3 separate regions of the Homo sapiens genome follow, and all the other regions are linked to region 2. Evidence: promoter capture Hi-C in human tissues and cell types (Jung and others, 2019). All regions are on one chromosome and are shown on one strand. The core of a region is centred on a gene start or on the middle of the fragment in contact, and the rest is flanking DNA. Distances in the headings are between cores, read along the strand shown. Region 1 overlaps MEAF6 (MYST/Esa1 associated factor 6). Region 2 holds the start of OSCP1 (organic solute carrier partner 1). Region 3 overlaps MTF1 (metal regulatory transcription factor 1).

What was found. The method cuts DNA at HindIII sites, captures the fragments that hold promoters and counts their contacts. A contact is called where the count stands out against the background at its distance.
Region 1: a contact is called between a fragment that was not itself captured here and the fragment with the promoter of OSCP1 in region 2, in 1 of the 25 tissues and cell types used here (hippocampus).
Region 3: a contact is called between a fragment that was not itself captured here and the fragment with the promoter of OSCP1 in region 2, in 1 of the 25 tissues and cell types used here (hippocampus).

The regions. Positions count from the first base shown.
Region 1 is chr1:37,492,071-37,494,953 of GRCh38, forward strand. It overlaps MEAF6 (MYST/Esa1 associated factor 6), which reads right to left. Exons shown (of 7, transcript NM_001270875.3): 7 at 1-2,037. The coding sequence ends at 2,029. Among named protein-coding and RNA genes, the nearest start is that of MIR5581, 7.5 kb to the right of the region's middle. The HindIII fragment of the contact is 5,415 bases long and covers 1-2,883 here.
Region 2 is chr1:36,449,136-36,451,835 of GRCh38, forward strand. It overlaps OSCP1 (organic solute carrier partner 1), which reads right to left and starts at 1,316. Exons shown (of 10, transcript NM_145047.5): 1 at 1,123-1,316. The coding sequence starts at 1,234. It overlaps LOC107984940 (a long non-coding RNA gene), which reads left to right. Exons shown (of 3, transcript XR_001737976.2): 3 at 323-430. RefSeq lists a silencer at 1,442-1,711. The HindIII fragment of the contact is 9,579 bases long and covers 1-2,700 here.
Region 3 is chr1:37,812,614-37,815,560 of GRCh38, forward strand. It overlaps MTF1 (metal regulatory transcription factor 1), which reads right to left. Exons shown (of 11, transcript NM_005955.3): 11 at 1-2,947. The coding sequence ends at 2,523. Among named protein-coding and RNA genes, the nearest start is that of YRDC, 5.9 kb to the left of the region's middle. The HindIII fragment of the contact is 4,615 bases long and covers 1-2,947 here.

The DNA.
Region 1 (2,883 bases), core at 106-2,605, 1.0 Mb after region 2:
CAGGCTGGAGTGCAGTGGCACTATCTCAGCTCACTGTAAGCTCCGCCTCCCAGGTTCATGCCATTCTCCTGCCTCAGCCTCCCGAGTAGCTGGGACTACCGGCACCCGCCACCACGCTCAGCTAATTTTTTGCATTTTTAGTAGAGATGGGGTTTCACTGTGTTCGCCAGGATGGTCTCGATCTCCTGACCTCGTGATCCGCCCGCTTCGGCCTCCCAAAGTGCTGGGATTACAGGTGTGAGCCACCGCACCCAGCCCAAGAGTCAAAAATATTTTAAGGTCTGCTGTGTGCTTTCCCCAAAAGGAAGGAAACTGTAGGCATCCCACTCCTCCCTCCCAGCAAAGGAGACCAACAGACAAAAAATACAGAATGCTTCTAGGATTTTTTTTTTTAAGGAATAATCTAAATATAAGAAACTATTTCCTTAAAAATCCTGACACTGGAGTTCTGCTACCAAAGACACAGTCAAAGATCTAAATAGCCAGAGTCAAAAAAAAAAAAAAAAAAAAACCCACAAAAGTTTATTTGAGAACAAGAGTGAAAGCTTTTGCACATCTGACAAGGTAGACTTGTTTTACAGTAGATGCCATCCATATTCAGCCCTACCAATACTATCACAAATGAAACATACTATTTCTTACAAAGATATAGGCATAAGTCAAGGACTATGACTAACTAGAGTGAAAGGAAAGGTTAGACCCCAAATCTTATCCCTTAGACCAATCATAACATAGGATGTAAATTAAACCATTCAGTCTTCTAATGTAGTGGTTCTCAACCTGGCTTCTTATCAGAATCCCAGGAACTCTTTTAAAGAAATTCCCAATAACTAGGCTGTACCCCAGTCTCTAGGGATGGGATCCAGGCATGAGTATTTTAAAGCTTCTCAGGTGATTCCAATGTGCAGCCAGACCCTGTCGCAAGTTCACCACAGCACTAGAGGCAGGTAACGATTACTAGCAGATTCCTCAGCCCCAACAAGCCCTCCAAGAAAGGGAGACCTGGTGGGCAACACTGGCTCTCACTGATGCTATCCTTTCACTCCACTTAAGAACGACATAAGTTATCACTTTTGGTATAATTTTGAGACTTTCCATATGCCATGGTGATTTTTAGAGCAATATTTAATCAGGTGAATACCAGCAAAGAGAGAAAATACAGAAAAAGAAATTTCCATAAGGCATGATATGAATAAATAAGTGAAAAAACAATCTCGGGTTTAAAAGTAAAGCATGAGAATTTGAAGCCTGTGAAATTTTATTTATACAAAAGAATAAAAAGTTATTTAAAAAGAACTGATTTAAACTTATGTTTTTCCATTTTTCCTGTTCCTTGAACATGAATCTACTACCAACTCAGAAAGATTTAAGATAGGTAATTACTAAACACTCTTTACCTCCCCTTGCAAAAAACAGAGGCAAGTTTCCCATTTTACTTATGATAAACCAGATTATTTTCAGTTATGAATATTGGCAACTGCATGAAAGAGATGATCAGATATGTCAGCAGGAAAGTATGAGCTGTACAAAGGCATTACAAAAAAACCCCAAAGAAAATAAGATAAAAACAACAAGAGAAAAACAAGAAAACATAAAACAATATAAGAAAATGCCAGATATTTACAGCCTCCATCTGAAATGTGACTTGTGTTCTACTTTCAGCATAAAACAAAACCAGAGAACATTTCTTGAAGGGTATCACAGATGAAGCTGGTGCCAGCCAGTTTTGGGGGAGACATTCATTCTAAGAAGGGAGAAACGCACAGTTAGCAACTTGCTGGGATTACAACATTGTCTTCATCTTCCTGCAGTTCTGTTACTAAAAATGACATAAAGTAAGACCCAATGTCTTACAGAAATGACTTGTTTGTCACCACATTTAGAACAAACTACTCAAAGTCACAGGCACTGGGTCTGGGAGAGCAGAGGTGGATGGCCACGAACTCAGGTGAAGGATGTTTATCTTTGTGAGGTCAGAGAAGGGAAGCAGGGCTCTACAGCCTGGAAGCTTCTGCACTAATGTGTCTTCTAATAGTCCTAAAGAAAGAAAAACAAAAGTCCCAACTTACTCTCGGCAGAACAGTTGTTTGACCCTAAAGGAAAAAAAAAATCTCATAAACAACTCTACTAGGGGACTGCTCTATAGCTAAAGATTATATTTCAGGCCAGGCACAGTGGCTCACACCTGTAATCCCAGCACTTTGGGAAGCCGAGGCAGGGAGATCACGAGGTCAGGAGTTCGAGACCAGCCTGGCCAGCATAGTGAAACCCCGTCTCTACTAAAAATACAAAACATTGGCCAGACATGGTGGTGGGCACCTGTAATTCCAGCTACTCAGGAGGCTGAGGTGGGAGAATCGCTTGAACCTGGAAGGCGGAGGTTGCAGTGAGCCAAGATCGCGCCATTGCACTCCAGCCTGGGTGACAAGAGTGAAACTCTGTTTCAAAAAAAAAAAAAAAAAAAAAGATTGTATTTCAGGCCAGGCGTGGTGGCTCAGGCCTATAATCCCAGCACTTAGGGAGGCCCAGGCGGGCAGATCACTTGAGGTCAGGAGCTCGAGACCAGCCTGGGTAACAAATTAAGACCATGTCTCTACAAAAAACACAAAAATTAGCCAGGTGTGGTGGCTCATGCCTGTGGTCTCAGCTACCCAGGAGTCTGAGGTGGGAGGACGGCTTGAGCCTGGGAGGCAGAGGTTGCAGTGAGCCAAGATCACACCATTGCACTCTAGCCTGGGTGACAGAGCCAGACCCTGTCACACACACAAAAAAAAAATTTAAAAAAAGATTCTATTCCAAATATAATGTACAATATTTCACATCTGAAAATGGTCTGCCTTCTGAGTCCATAAAGGGATTGAAACATCAATTTTGCTCTTATTA
Region 2 (2,700 bases), core at 66-2,565:
TGTTTTAATTGGCGGCCATGTCAATTGCCTTTTCAACTTTTCCTCCTCCACTTTGAAATATAATATTTCCTTCATACTTAATCCTAGGAAATTTGGTATAAGCAAGTTGTTTGCCGAGAAGGGAGGAAAAGAGGAAAAGGAACAGAGTGGCAGAGTGTTCTGAGTCGTCATTTTTCTGGGGATTAGTGTGGTGTCCATGGGAGGCAGATTTTGCATTTTCGAAGCTCTCATATAATTATTTTCACAATTGTATTCCCCTCCAACACTTGTGAGGAGATTTATAACTTTCTTATTTTTTTCATATTTATCTATATTATTTTAGAACACCAAATTTCTAGAAATACTTCTGAGATGAGTAAGACCAATCTCCAGCTTATGTGGGAAGATACTACCATAAAGAAATTAAGAATCTGAACCTGGGCTGGACGCGGTGGCTCACGCCTATAATCCCAGCACTTTGGGAGGCCGAGGGGGGCAGATCGTTTGAGTCCAGGAATTGAAGACCAGCCTGGGAAACATGGTGAAACCCCATCTCTACTAAAAATACAAAAATTAGCTGGGTGTGGTGGTGCATGCCTGTAATCCCAGCTACTTGGGAGGCTGAGGCACGAGAATCGCTGGAACCCAGGAGGCAGAGGTTGCAGTGAGCCGAGATCGTGCCACACACTCCAGCCTGGGCGACAGAGCGAGACCCTGTCTCAAAAAAAAAAAAAAAAAAAAAAAAAAAAAAAAATCAGAACCTGTTCCTTGGGGGTAAAGAGGATGCTTGGACTAGCAAGGGGTATGATACTAGATGGTGGGCAGCTGGGACTCCTACATTTGGAAGGCACTGATTGACAAGAGAGACTGGGAAATCACCTCTCCCATTTGAAGAGATGGGGAAATTAGGGAGGTCAGGCACCCTAGTGTCCACTGGGAGTATTAAGTTCCTCTGCTGTGAAAAAAGCTTTTGGGGGGATTTGACTCCCGAGGGGCTCCAAATGGATGTGGCTTGTAAGAAAGGTCCCTGGTTATAAGAGTGAAGTGTGTAGGGGTGCGGGTCTGGCTGTGGGTGTTAGGGCGATGATGAGAGGGCCGGGCTGCTGGCTGCGGGTCTGGCTGAGCGGGCCGGGGGCCTCTCACCTTTGCGGGCCTTGTCTCCCGGGATGTTCTGGGCCCGCAGCCGTTGGTCGAGGATGTAAAGCATCTCCCCGCCCAAGTTCAAGAAGAGCAGCGGTAGCGTCCGCACCGACATGGTGCTGGAAACGAGCTGGACTGGTGAAGAGCCCCGGGGTTCGGTAGCCAGTGGCCTGAAGGCCAGGCCGCAGCGTCCCAATAGTCCGGTTGCTGGGGCAACGCCGTGACGGGAAGAGCGAGCCAATCAGAAGGCGGTTTGGTGGGAGGTGCCCTGAAGACGGGAGCTAATTGGTCTGGGTGGTGGACCGTCCCGGGGGGATTGGTCCGAGCCAGAGGCCGGCGCGGCGTTGGGCGCGGCTGGGGAGCTGTGCTTCTGAGAGTAGGTTTCCCTCGAAAGGGCGAGGGCCGGGCCAGGGCTGGGGGTGGTCTCGACACAGCCAGCCCGGCGCTTGGGACCCCGGCCGCTGGCGCGGGGCCTCAGGTTCCTATAACAGAGGAAAGCCCAGGCAGAACGGCATTAGAGCAGGCTCGGGTCAGACGGACCTGGGTTGGAATCACGGCTCGTGATTTCTTGCTGTGTGACTTCGGGCAGGGTTTGAGCCTTGGCTTCCTCTTACGTAACATGGAGCTGGCACTCACATCACAGGGCGGCTGAGAGGAATCAGTCAGATCATGGAAAGGCCCCGAAAGCACTCAATAAAAATGGTAACTGACTTTTCTTTTAGACGAGGGAAGGATCAGAAGTCCTGAGTCGTTTGCATCGCCTCCCAAAAGTTTACTTGAAGTGAAGCCCCTCCTGGTTTCATACTCCATGAAGCAAACCAGTCCCGTCCGTCCCCGTGTGTCCAGTTCCCAGAGGATGCGCCTGGGGGCTCTGGGAAGTTCCCTCCTCGACGCTGTTCCGAAGGCCTCCCAACCATTTCTTTTTTCTTTTTTTTTTTTTTTTGAGACGGATTTTGCCCTTGTCGCTCAGGCTGGAGTGCAGTGGCGCCATCTCGGCTCATTGCAACTTCCGCCTTCAGGGTTCAAGCGATTCTCCTGCCTCAGCCTCCCGAGTAGCTGGGATTACAGGCGCCCGCCACCATGCCCGGCTAATTTTTGTATTTTTAGTAGAGACGGGGTTTCACCATGTTGGCCAGGCTGGTCTGGAACTCCTGACCTCAGGTGATCTGCCCGCCTGGGCCTCCCAAAGTGCTGAGATTACAGGCGTGAGCTATCACGCCCGGCCCCAACCATTTCTCTTTGAGGGCAGCGACTCCCTTCCTTACCTCCATCTTAAGCTCCAGGATTACTTTTTGCCATCTGCTGTATATTTTTACTCTGATGAACAACCATTTCTGTAAATTTCAGTACTTCCAAAACCTACTAATTATCTTTCCCTCCAGCTACTCAAACTTGAAACTTGGGCCTTGGCTTCCAAATCTGTTTCCCAGGGTCTTTTATCAGTCATCATATTATGCTTTTTCCTCCAACACCTTTCTTACATTCATCCCTTCATTTGTTTTTCTGTCTGCATTGCTATGTTCCTCTGTATCACTGTTCTTTTCTCTCTTCTACCTTGCACTGGCTGCTAAGCTAAATGTC
Region 3 (2,947 bases), core at 20-2,519, 1.4 Mb after region 2:
CCAAGAAGAGTCGCTATTTAAACTGTGGGTGCTTCAGATGTCCTTCCCTGGGCTCCTATTTCCCACTTCCGCCCCAGGGAACCCAAATCCCAGGTGACCACAGGATGGGGATATGGGAAGGTCATTACTGCCCTCTGATACAAGCTTACTTTGGGGTCCCATCACTACTCTCTCAGAAGTTGTAAACAGCAAGGGCCCTACCTCAAAACTTCCCATGGGTGCGAGGCCCAGAGACAGCCAAGGACAACTCATGCTCAGCAGTTGGTTTTCCAGGAGGACTGGAAACCTCCTGCCTTATCAACTTCTGCTGAGGTCAATGGTCAACAGAAGCCACAATCCTTTTGGGGAAGGGAGTGCAGAAGGTCAAAAAGAAGTCAATTCCCTAGACCAGGCATGGTGGCTCACACCTGTAATCCCAGCACTTTGGGAGACTGAGGCGGGAGGATCACCTGACGTTGGGAGTTCGAGACCAGCCTGACCAACATGGAGAAACCCCGTCTCTACTAAAAATACAAAATTAGCCAGGCGTGGTGGCGCATGCCTGTAATCCCAGCTACTCGGGAGGCTGAGGCAGAATTGCTTGAACCTGGGAAGTGGAGGTTGCGGTGAGCCAAGATTGCGCCACTGCACTCCAGCCAGGGCAACAAAAGCAAAACTCTGTCTCAAAAAAAAAAAGAAGTCAATTATTCTGGCTAGGGTCCTGGAATGAGAAATTGGCTGCTTGTAGTTAAGATTTCTTACTGCCATTTCTCCTCATGGCAGTAACAACATTCACCACCACTGCCCTCTTTGTCTGTCCCTGAACATCCTTGCTAAAGGCAGGGAGGGCCTCTGGCTCCAAGGTAAATTATCTGTTCTCAATAATATCTTGGCTGGCCCTGAGCAATGGCTCAGAGAACAGGAGAGTGACCAATGCAGATCCCTTTACATTAGGGAATGAAAATGCAAGGCAAAATTATGGCTGCTTCCTGCCTGACACTGTTGGCTTAGAAGAGCAGCCTTGTTTGTGGAACACCACTCCTTGCTCAGGGCAAGGAAAGGGCTCTTGGGAGGCAGAGGCCTATTCTGCACCTCAGGCCATGCCTGGCCTCTGAGCTCGGTGAGTTTGGTCAGCACTCATGACTATGTTAATATAGCCTGTTGAGGGAAACTTTTCATGCTAGTATGGATTGTATCTTTTATTTTAAGAGGCAATGACTTGGAGCCAAAGGCAGACATATGGATATAATTCTATAACACACACACACAATTTTTTCCTATAACACAACTTAATGAAACATTCCAAATGAGATAACTTATTGCAACATTTCAGGCTTTTTGGTGGAAAGGGAATTTTTTTGTTTTGCTATACCCTGAGTAGAAGATCATCGTTTTGTGTTTCTTTTTTTTTTTTTTTTAAATAAATCACATGACTAAGCTGAGCAAGTCACATCCTTGTTTGCACTGTATGAGGCTGTATGCAAAATCCAGAGGGGGGCAGAGATGGAGGGGGCAACCCAAAGCCTGGCTGGAACCTGGAACCAGGACACCTGGCCTGCCAATTACATGCCACCTCATATGAATTCCCTTAAATCTGCACCTTCTTCTGATAAGCAAAATGCAGCCCTTCTGCTCTGAGGAAGAAAATACCATTAAAAAGAAGGCAGACCACCAAACAGCACTGGCCATAAGCCACAAGTTCACTCTAGGACAAAACAGCGATGTTCCCCAAGGAAAATTCACTGCGATCTGCAAGCCCTGGCAACCAACCGAGAGAAAGAACCAGGAAGGCAAGGACAGTGATCATGTTGCTAGAGCCTGCTTTGCACACACGTCATCAACAGACAGCAGTCAACAAGCTGCCTAGGGCCTCTGCAGAGCCAGATCAACCCCACAGCCTGTGAGCCAGGCCTTAAGCTGCCTATTTGTGCTGAAGCGGGCTGCAGAACGACCCGTGTTATCCACCCTGAGCACCACCAACACTAAGCACAAATGACAACACCATCTCACCTGAACCCTGTCCAACTCACAGCTGCCTCACTGGCCTTTGCCACTGCCCTCTCTGATGGAGCAAGGGTCTGGCCTTCCAAGCAAATGTCAGCCTCAGATTCAAAAGACACATAGGAAGGAGCAACACCCAACACACTGAAAACTCCTGCCCGATCCACAAAGACCCCAGTGCAAGCGATGGGCAGCATCAGATTGATGGAAACCACACCCTTTCATTTAGAATTTTTATGCACACGAGTAACCTTAGTTTCCAAGTTCACATGACAACAAGCAAAAGTGACATACAGTGCAGCCAAACAGTTCACTTATAACTTAGCTTTTTTTGTTGTTTTTTTTGTTTTTTGTTTTTTTCCAAAGAATAGTTCCTTAAAATGGATGCTCCTGGGATGTGAATAAAGAAAATACGTCTGAAAGGTGAGGATTTCAAACAGTAGATTTCTTCATCCTTCAAATTTCTGACCCATGATGGCAGGCATTGTACCTCATGCCTCCTGCTCACCCGCTTTTCCCAGAGGTGAGCACACATGGGCCCTTCACTTGGAGAAGCTGCTGGTGAGGCCCATCTCCTCCTCCCCCTGCAGTAGTGCTTCAATGGGAATCAGATTGGACGGGGTGTCCAGGCTCTGGAGGGATAGAAACTCTGACACATCCATGGCACTTAATGTTTCTGTCTGAGGGTCTGAAGGAGTCTCTGCTTGTCGGCTTTGCTCACAGGAGGAGGGCAAGGTAGAGGATGATGACCCGGGAACAGGGGCTGAAGAGAAAGTCTGCGCTGGGAGCTGCAGGCTGGGCCCATCAGGAGCCTGGGGGCTCGGCTCTGGAGGGGGTGGGGAGGAGCAGCCCTTTCTCCTGCTGGATGCCCGCTCCTTTGCAGAGTCCCGGCATGCACACTGACACTGACATGCCTCTTCTTGTTTGATGATGATCACAGGAACACTGAGGCCAATCTGCTGGACAG